Regions from separate parts of the Homo sapiens genome. Here region 1 is linked to region 2. The links are contacts of gene promoters, found by promoter capture Hi-C in blood cells and fetal thymus (Javierre and others, 2016). All regions are on one chromosome and are shown on one strand. Each heading gives the region's core, a stretch centred on a gene start or on the middle of the fragment in contact. The rest is flanking DNA. Distances are from core to core; before and after follow the strand shown. Region 1 has its middle 120 kb from the start of LINC02104. Region 2 holds the start of MROH2B (maestro heat like repeat family member 2B).

Region 1 (4,935 bases), core at 1,170-3,669, 1.4 Mb after region 2:
ATAATAGCATGGTCAAAATATAGACTTGAAAAACATTATTAGATGTATGTAGCATTTAAAACAGTGTAGAACTTCAGGATTATAAAGGACAGGCAAGGAAGTGGTGGACGATAACGTTGGAGAGGTAAATAGGTTCAATTCATGAAGGATGAGATATTCACAGGTAAAGAGTTTGAACTTCATCTTGTAGGTGATGAAGAACCATGGAAAAGATTTTCATAGTAGAATACTATTGAAAAAAATCTTTAGGCAAAATAAATTTAATAAAGTTTATTTGAGCAAAGAACAATTCATAAATTGGATAGTACTTTGAATCAAAAAAAGATTCAGAGTGCTGTGATGCAGCATTGTCATATTGGGGTGGAGAGGGGGTGATTCCTTTCCTCCCCATCTTAAGGGTCTTGGCCAACACCCCTATAACAAAAGGCAGATTAACAAGAGAAAAGCATAACAAATTTAATTCATCAGTTTTTCATGACATGGGAGCCTTCAGAATGAAGACTCAAAGATACAGGGGAAACTATCTGATTTTATGCTTCCATTCACTGAAGTAGGGACAGTCATGTAGAAATATGGTTAAACAAACAAACAAAAAAAATGTACGAGCTAACAGTAATAGACTGAGTGAAAAAATCTATCAAGGCCTGCCCAGATTCTTCTTGACCTCTCTATACATCTGCTGGTATGTTTTTGCTTAATCTATAATATATTTAGAGGGGTAGACCAATGTTTAGCTTCTGATTGGATAGGGAGAAACAATGCACTATTAAAATTTCTAATGATTAGTGATGTTGAGCATTTTTTAATGTATCTGTTGACCACATGGATGTCTTCTTTTGAGAAGTGTCTGTTCACGTCCTTTGCCCATTTTTTAATGGGGTTGTTTGATTTTTGCTTGTTGAATTGTTTGTTTCTTATAGATTCTGGAAATTAGACCTTTGTCAGATGCATAGTTTGTGAATATTTTCTCCCATTCTGTAGGTTGTCTGTTTACTCTGCTGATAGTTTCTTCAATATCACTACTGGATATATACTTAATGGAAAATAATTATTCTACAGACAAGACACATGCACTTATATGTTCATTGCAGCACTATTCACAATAGCAAACACATGGAATGAACCTAGGTGCCCATCAACAGTGTACCAGATAAAGAAAATATGGTACATATACACCATGGAATACTATACAGATATAAAAAAGAGCAAGACCATGTCCTTTGCAACAACATGGATGCAGCTGCAGGCCATTATCCTAAGCAAATTAATGCAGGAACAAAACACCAAATGTCACATGTTCTCACTTATAAGGAGGAGCTGAATATTGGGTAAACATGGACATAAAAATGACAACGGTAGATATTAGGGACTAATATGGGATGTTGGAGGGAGGAATGGGTTGAAAAACTACTAGGTATTGTGCTCATTACCTGGGTGATGGAATCATTTGTGCACCAAACCTCAATGACATGCTATTTACCCATGTAACAAACCTGCACATATACCCACTGAACCTAAAATAAAAGCTGAAAAAAAATAAAATTATTTACTCAGCAAGAACAAATAGATGAATGAATAAAATGTCTAGGTTTCATTGGCCTTTAATTCTCCATCTGTAAAGACATAGGGTGGTCCAAATATATGGCTGAGAGGTAAATTCTCAAGAGATAAAGATATACCCAGGGGGTGGGCATAAGCCTCTACCTTGGGTGATTTCTTTTATACAACCATTAGTTGGAATAGAGGCATTGGCAGTTTCTAGTTTAACCAAGAGACTGATGTTAAGTTATTATATACTGAAAGCCTGTCAAAAGACATAGGTACATAGGCATTCTTGCAGATATATCTATTTATGTTCATATGTATATATCATAACATTCTTCCAATATGAGCAGACCTGGTCAGCCCAATCCATTATTGGGGTTATATTAAAACAAGGGTTAAAAATAAATGGGTCCAGAAGCTTAACTAAAGAAGAAACCAGCTGTGCAATCTAAACAGATGGTTGCATTTGGGATTCTAGTTATTTCAGTTACAATGTGGAGGAAAGGATCTCTAAAGTCATGCAAAGATTTTGGCTTAGTGTGTAAATCCAGCATTCAGTTAAATTTTCTGTGAAAGCTATTATTGACTGTTAGATTATTTATTTATTTATTTATTTATTTATTTATTTGAGACGGAGTTTTGCTCTTATCGCCCAGGCTGGAGTGCAATGGTACAATCTTAGCTCACTGCAACCTCTGCCTCCGTGGTTGAAGCGATTGTCCTGCCTCAGCCTCCTGAGTAGCTGGGATTATGGGCACCTGCCACCACACCCAGCTAATTTTTGAATATTTTTAATTTTGAATTTTTTTAAAATACAGCCTGTGTTTCGCCATGTTGGCCAGGCTAGTCTCGCACTCCTGACCTCAGGTGATCCACCCTCCTCGGCCTCCCAAAATGCTGGGATTATAGGCATGAGCTACCATGCCCAACCCGTTAGATTCCATGCAAAGATAAAAAGGAGGAGCAAGAAATAGGAGAGGAAAAGAAATAGGGGGTTCATGATGGAGAGAGGAGGTTCTTGGGAAAGCTGTTTACATTTAAGATGTCATCTGCTTCTGGAGAAAGATCTTTCTGGTCAGCTTTATCTTTAGATTACCAACTGGCATGTAGTTCCATAAATTGAGGGGGCCCCCCTCCAGTTGAGAGACATAGATCTAAGATTCAAGGCCTTGAAGTTTTGCTGGAGTGTGAATTATGAGAAAAACTTAGTATGTTCCCTTTCAACAAGGTTCAAGGGTAGTCTTTCTTTGATATCGTTTCCAAAAGACCCAGTCTCCAGGTTCTAGATGGTGGAAAATCTGATCATGAATCAGTGAGTCACAGAAGCTTATTTAACCTAATGAAAATATGCATTGGCATAATGTATCAAAGCCTCACAATATTGAGTCATGTCAGCGATTACAAATATAAGAAATACATGAGGTTTTATCATGAAGGGCACAGGTATTCCAGTTACTATTTTATAAAGGTGTCAGCTTGCGCATTGCAGTAGGGGTAGATTTAATTATCATTAAAGTCAGTGGTAAAACTTTTGGTGACGGCAATCCAATGAATTCCGTTAATATAGCCAAATTTAGTTTTAGGATACCATTTGTCCATTCAACCTTTACAGAAGACTAGGATGGTAAAGACAATGAGAATGTCATCTTGTTTGTAAAACTTTATTTAATTGTTTAATAATTTGTCCAGTAAAATGAGTTCTCCTATCATTGGAAATCTCTCCAAGGACACTTCATGAAGGAAATACATTTTCTAGTATATACAGATGGATAGATAGATATAGATAGATAGATAGATAGATAGATAGATAGATAGACAGATAATTTGCCACTGTTGTGGCATCAACCTTCCTGCATGGAAAGGCTCCAATCTATCCTGAGAACAGGCATACAGTTACATAACATACTGATAAGCCATGGAGGATAGCAGATAAATGAAGTTTATTTGTAGGGGTGAAAATGATCTTGCAGATACTAAACATGTACCACCTGGAACCTTAATGGCTTTTCTCAAATTAGGAATATGACAAATCAGACACTAGTTATAAACCTTTTTTGCAACTTTAGAACAATAACCCCCATACTTTTTCATAATCTGGACCGTTTTGACTATATTATGGTGAGTTATGTAGTGTAGATCTTTTAATAGTGGCTATTTTGAAGACTCAGTGATGACAAGGTGTCCATCTGGGCTCTCAGTGAGTTCACATTTAGTGTTAAATTTGAATCTTTTAAGTGTCAATTTTCTTTTCTTTTCTAATTCAGGTGCACAGCATCAATTATTGAATAAATTATCATAGGTGGTTATTTGATTGGAATCAATCTTATGGAATTCTTTAGATTGCATACCGTATTACTTATTAATTGAAAATGGAAGTCGGGTAGAGCATTTTCTTGATATTCAGTTTCAGTTTTATAAAAAGCTTCAATTTTACTAATAGCAACTTGTGAGGGCAACAAAGTAACAGAAAGAAGCCCGTACACTTGGGGTATATTTTTAATGGGGATCCCATTAGAAGTGAAAAATCCTCTTTGTTTGCATAGCACACCAAAACCATGGACTATAGAAAAACAAGAAAGATAGAAAACATCATGAGTCAAGAGTTCAAATTAAAAAATGAGGAAAAAAAGCATTTTTCTCACAAAAAAAGTATAAAAGGCATGAATCAATGAAATTTATTTTGTGTTGTCTACCATTTTATTGCTACAACATCAGGCACTAACATGTAGTACTCAATAAATATTTGTTGAATTAATAAAGAAGAGCAGTCCATTTGTGATACCAACAGAAATAGACAGCAGGATGTTGACCCATATGTTTTTAATGGCCTGCCCACTATGTGTAATTATTGGACTAAAGCATCAGGAAATTGAGAGCTTCTTCAGGGAAAAAATACCAACATTTGCATACCGAAGAAGATATTTATTAAAACTGGGAAAAACTAAGATATCAAGCAAACTGAGGAAGAAATCTCACAGAATCCATAGAAGGGATGGCTTGACCTTCTTTTAAAACCCTGTGGCTGGATAAATGTCTGCACAAGGAGAATGCAAAGGCCTTACTTCACATATTTTATCCCAATCCAGCCTAACCCTCTAGATGTCATGAAATAAGTTAATGCCACTGAGACACATGCTGAAGTAGACCAGTCTCTTCTTCGTCCTGCCTCTATCCCCAGTCACAAGGCTGACTGCTGAAAAGTCCCTGACCTATTCTAATGACTTAGAACTGAACCAAAACTTCTAGTGCTATGCAAATCAGAACAGATGTAGGGGCTTCTCCAGGTCCAGATGAATGTTAATTTCTAAAGTGAAGCCTCAACTGACTTTTTTTTTTTTTTTGAGGGAAAGTGGATGTTTCTGTTAGAATTCTGTTCTAAAGCAAGAAAAT
Region 2 (4,535 bases), core at 944-3,443:
AAAACCAAACACCGCATGTTCTCACTCATAGGTGGGAATTGAACAATGAGAACACATGGACAAAGGAAGGGGAACATCACACACTGAGGACTGTTGGGGGGTGGGGGGAGTGGGAAAGGATAGCATTAGGAGATATACCTAATGCTAAATGACGAGTTAATGGGTGCAGCACACAAACATGGCACATGTATACATATGTAACAAAACTGCACGTTGTGCACATGTACCCTAGAACTTAAAGTATAATAATAATAAAATTTTTAAAAAAGAAATTAGGCTTATCTCATGAAACTGACAAATCAAACAAAACACAGCCTAATTTCACTTTTAATATATTTTATAAAAATCTAACACGTCATCTGAAGAATAAAAGGATAAATATCAAAGTTTAGATTAATTGTAGTATACATTAAAATCATCTACAATTAAACTATTAAAACCATAAAATTTAAATTTTTATAACGTTTCTGTATTATTTCTATGTATCTATTCTTCTTTAGCTTTATATTTTACCTTTACTGCCTTATTAATATTTTTGTCTGATAACATCATGTGGGAACATAGTAGGCCTGGGATTGGGTAGCTTCATTTGACAAGTTACATTGAAAGGGGATGGCTACCACATATCCAGTGAGACACTCTAATTCCTTAGCAGGCTAGATTTAGGCTCCCTCACAAATATCTAGAAACAGTACTTAATTAGTTAGCACATGCCATCCTATTCACTTTGAGAATTCGTGTTTAGGATCCTCTTAGAGTCTTAGAGAAATCAAATCCATATTGTGTTAGCCTCATGCAATGAGAAGAGGAAGAAATAATGGGAAGATGTAACAAGCAGGCGACTGAAAAATGAAATAAAATGACAGCAAATCAGCTATTTTGAGGATTTGGGGATTTTAAAACTATCTGCAGTATTGGTTTCAATGAGTGAATTTACTTTGTCTGAAAGGATTTTAGCAAAAAGTTGTGTTTTGATTGCAGCGATGAATAAATTAAAAGTCAAAATAAATCAATTATCTCCTAACTTCTCTAATCTCTATGAAATCAAGGAAGTCTTTATATACAGACATACAGAAAAATCATTTGTCACCATTCACAAAAATATTAAGAAAATGGTTGTAACAATTACCTAAATGGCTAGCTTTCTTATTATTGATTCTGCTGTACATTGTTTTTTAAGACTCTAAGAGCACATAATTTCTAACATCATTTTTTCCCTTATAGGGAATCTGTTGTTTTATTTACTACAAGTAGACTTAACATCTTATAGATGTTAAGAGTTTCGGGATGCCTCTAATCACCCCAGTACCTCCCTGACTAACCAAACTTGGCCTATTCTTCAGTGAGTCATGATGCTGGGGAAGAGCTCCTTGCCCAACCACAACAAACATTCTTCAGTTAACTGCTATTTACTGATCCACTAATGAATGTTTGGGCAAGGACCTTGGTCAGTGCTTTTCAAAGTTCAGTGAACCTAAGAATCACCAGGGGCGCACATTAAATATATAGATTGCTGCCCCCTCATTCTAATTTACTGGGTCTGAAGTGGGGCCTGGGAATTCACATTTTAAATAAGGATACCAAGTAAATCCCATGATAAAGTCACCTGGAGACAAAACTCTGAAAGTGATGCTGACTTGGGAAGCGGAAAATGTTGAGGATCTCTTTAATACAGTGCAAAATGTCTATGAGAAGAATGATGAATTCAAAGGTTTAGTTGGAAGCAGTTGACCTTTGAATCTGGAATAAGCTTCACCGATGAAGTTAAGATGGCCAAAAAAGCAGCAGCAGATGAAAATTGTCATGAGCTCCCCTCCTCAGCCCATTCTACATTTAGCCCTATAGACTAGCAGTACTGCCTTCCCTTTCTCTATCATCCTCCATATTCACATAGAGTCTGGACATATATTGAAGATTGTCATCACATAGATTTATAGTTGGGGACCAGATTTCAATTCATGCTAGATAAGTTGAAAACATTATGGAAAATTGATCTAGATAAAAAATAATTTGAAAACAAAAAGAAAGCTGAAGACAGAGAAAAAGCCTGAGCCTGGAGTGAGGCCAAGATCCTGAACATGCCAGGGAGGAATTAATGGAGAGGGAGGTAGAGAGGTCTTCACTTTGCTGCTGTCAGTTGGACATTCCATCCAACTGCCCCTGAAGTGCATTCCAGTCCACTGAGCATGCTCAGTTCATATGACTGATTTTCACTAAGTGTAACAATCAACGAGTTCACCATAAAGCCTTTCCCAACATCAGGACAGTAAAGCAACTACTGAAAACCATTCCTGAATTTGTGATCAATGGACTCAAGTTTAGGGAGAGGAGCACCTTTGGTCTGCAACAATGGTTTGAATCCCAGTCTCTAATTACTTCTTTCCCAAATACTCTGGTCACCAAAGGGACAATATTTGGTGAGATGCAGCCATTTTGTTGGTTAGCAGGAGTTCAGACGCAAGACAATGTCATAGTGGTAGAATACAGTATCAACTTCAACAGCAAGCCCATCTCTGGAAGCTCCCAGACCATTGTGCCAATCAAGTGGAGGAGGCACTTTCATTTAGAGAGGCTTATGTGAACCTTATATGAGAAACTTGCCAACCTGCCTCTTTGATTTTTTAGCCTTACTATTTCTAATACTTAGGTGCTATCTTTTAGAGACCCTGAAACAGCCAAGACATGACACTTAGTACAGAGGAATCCATAGGTAAGCATCATCAGATCCTGAGAAGCCAAGGCTCTTCCCTGTGTTTTGTTTCTGTGGAATTATAAGTATATATGAGGGCTGGGAGTGGCGCGTCATTGTGGGAGGACTGTACACCTCAAAGGATTTATGAAATGGTATGCTAAATACATAATAAAATCATGCTGATTGTGAAGGACCAATAATAGACTGGAAGCCTAAGAGATGGTTGTGCTTTAAAATTTAGAGTCTACCTGAGGAGAAAGTGGCTACATATCAAAGAAAGGCAGTTTGTTATTTAATTTTAAATACTAGAAGAGTCCTTTGGAAGTATTTCTCCCAATTTCCAGGTATGGCTGCCTTTCTACTTTGCCAAAAAGATTGCCCTAAATGAGTATGTTGTTTGGTGTGGAGGTTAATAAGAAATCTTCATCTCCAAAAGTATTTCTCCTACCAACTTGCCATGTAGCTTGAAATTGCTCAATTCCTTTGACTCAATTTTTTTTCCAGTTTTCTAGAGTGCTTTATTCAAAAACATATATTCCTAGAAAATGCAAGTCAAACACATTTAGGTCATTGTCAGAAAACAGGAAGCCTTCATTAGCATGTGACCAAAAGAGGGAGTTGGCAGGCACAGGAGAATAGGTGGAGTTGAAAAGGGTATGGAAAAAGAAGATGGGAGAGGTATTGAGGGGAGGACCAGTGAAAAATAAACAGCTATGTTGCACCCCTGCCTTCTAATGCTTAAGTCAGGAGTGAGAAATTCACCTCATTGACTCTGAGAGCTAAATCCTGCAAGAGAGAATTTACAAGGCAATGCCCACTTGCCTGGAGGGATACATAGGAATCCGGCATCTTTTATCTTCCCTTTCACATTTGATTCAGGTTTCAAAAATAATAATAACTTAGCATCTGCTAGTTTCATTTATGTCATGGATATGAATAAAACAGTTCCTGCCATCAAAGAGCTAGCAGTCAAGGGAGAGAGAGAGAGAGAGGATAAATGAATGAATGAACTTTCTGTGTTGATTACAAAATAATTAACAGGAGGGCATTTCAGCATATATTTCAATTCATATTTTTCTGTACGTTTTAGAGATGTTTGGGGATATTAACCTCACTCTTGGCATGCTGAACAAGGAAGATATTGTTAACAAGGTAGGGAAAACAGAGAAAAATCTTTTTCCCTTTTTCAGTCTTCTTGTTGCAACATTTCGTATATATTTTTCTTTGTCTCAACTTTCTCATTTTTCTCTGGCTTGTTACATGGCATTAGATTTTTCAGTAAATGCAGTTGTAATGAAAGTCATTGTAATGTTTAAGCAATGATATTTGGCATTTCAAGAATCACAGCATCTATGTCTAGAAAATAGCAAAAAAAAAGTTCCTTTTTATAACTTTATACAGGCAGATGTTGAAAGGTGTATGTCAGACTTACAAACATGTGGATGAGACTGTTTCTTTTATAATTTGAGGGTTGTTACAAAAATCCCAAAAGCTCTTCCCTGCTCATCTATAATGCTATTTCACAGCTAGAAGTTTACCTAAGAATTGAAGGCTTTTCACATTTCAACAACCTTTTATAAAATAAAAGAAATAACTGCCCTTCATCGAACACTTATCTGGGAAGTAAAATGCTAGATATTTTCCAAACAACAGTGTATTGTATAATATTCACTCCTCAGAACAATTTTATCAGGTAGTTATTGCTATTTCCATTTGATAACTGAGAAAAAATTAGGCAGAGAGAAGTTACATGACTTGCTCAACTAAGAACAACAGGACTATATCCAAAAGCAAGCCCATCTGACTCCAAAAAAAAATGTTCCTAATCATTATTCAGTGTTGT

The links. Contacts are between HindIII fragments. The CHiCAGO score rates a contact against its expected background, and 5 or more counts as called.
Region 1: a contact is called between a fragment that was not itself captured here and the fragment with the promoter of MROH2B in region 2, in 1 of 17 cell types (activated CD4 T cells). The highest score is 5.8, in activated CD4 T cells.

The regions. Positions count from the first base shown.
Region 1 is chr5:39,640,574-39,645,508 of GRCh38, reverse strand. No RefSeq gene overlaps it. Among named protein-coding and RNA genes, the nearest start is that of LINC02104, 120 kb to the right of the region's middle. The HindIII fragment of the contact is 908 bases long and covers 1,966-2,873 here.
Region 2 is chr5:41,069,000-41,073,534 of GRCh38, reverse strand. It overlaps MROH2B (maestro heat like repeat family member 2B), which reads left to right and starts at 2,193. Exons shown (of 42, transcript NM_173489.5): 1 at 2,193-2,710; 2 at 3,783-3,844. The coding sequence starts at 2,683. It overlaps LOC105374739 (a long non-coding RNA gene), which reads right to left and starts at 2,178. Exons shown (of 6, transcript XR_001742650.2): 1 at 1,607-2,178. The HindIII fragment of the contact is 2,936 bases long and covers 1,753-4,535 here.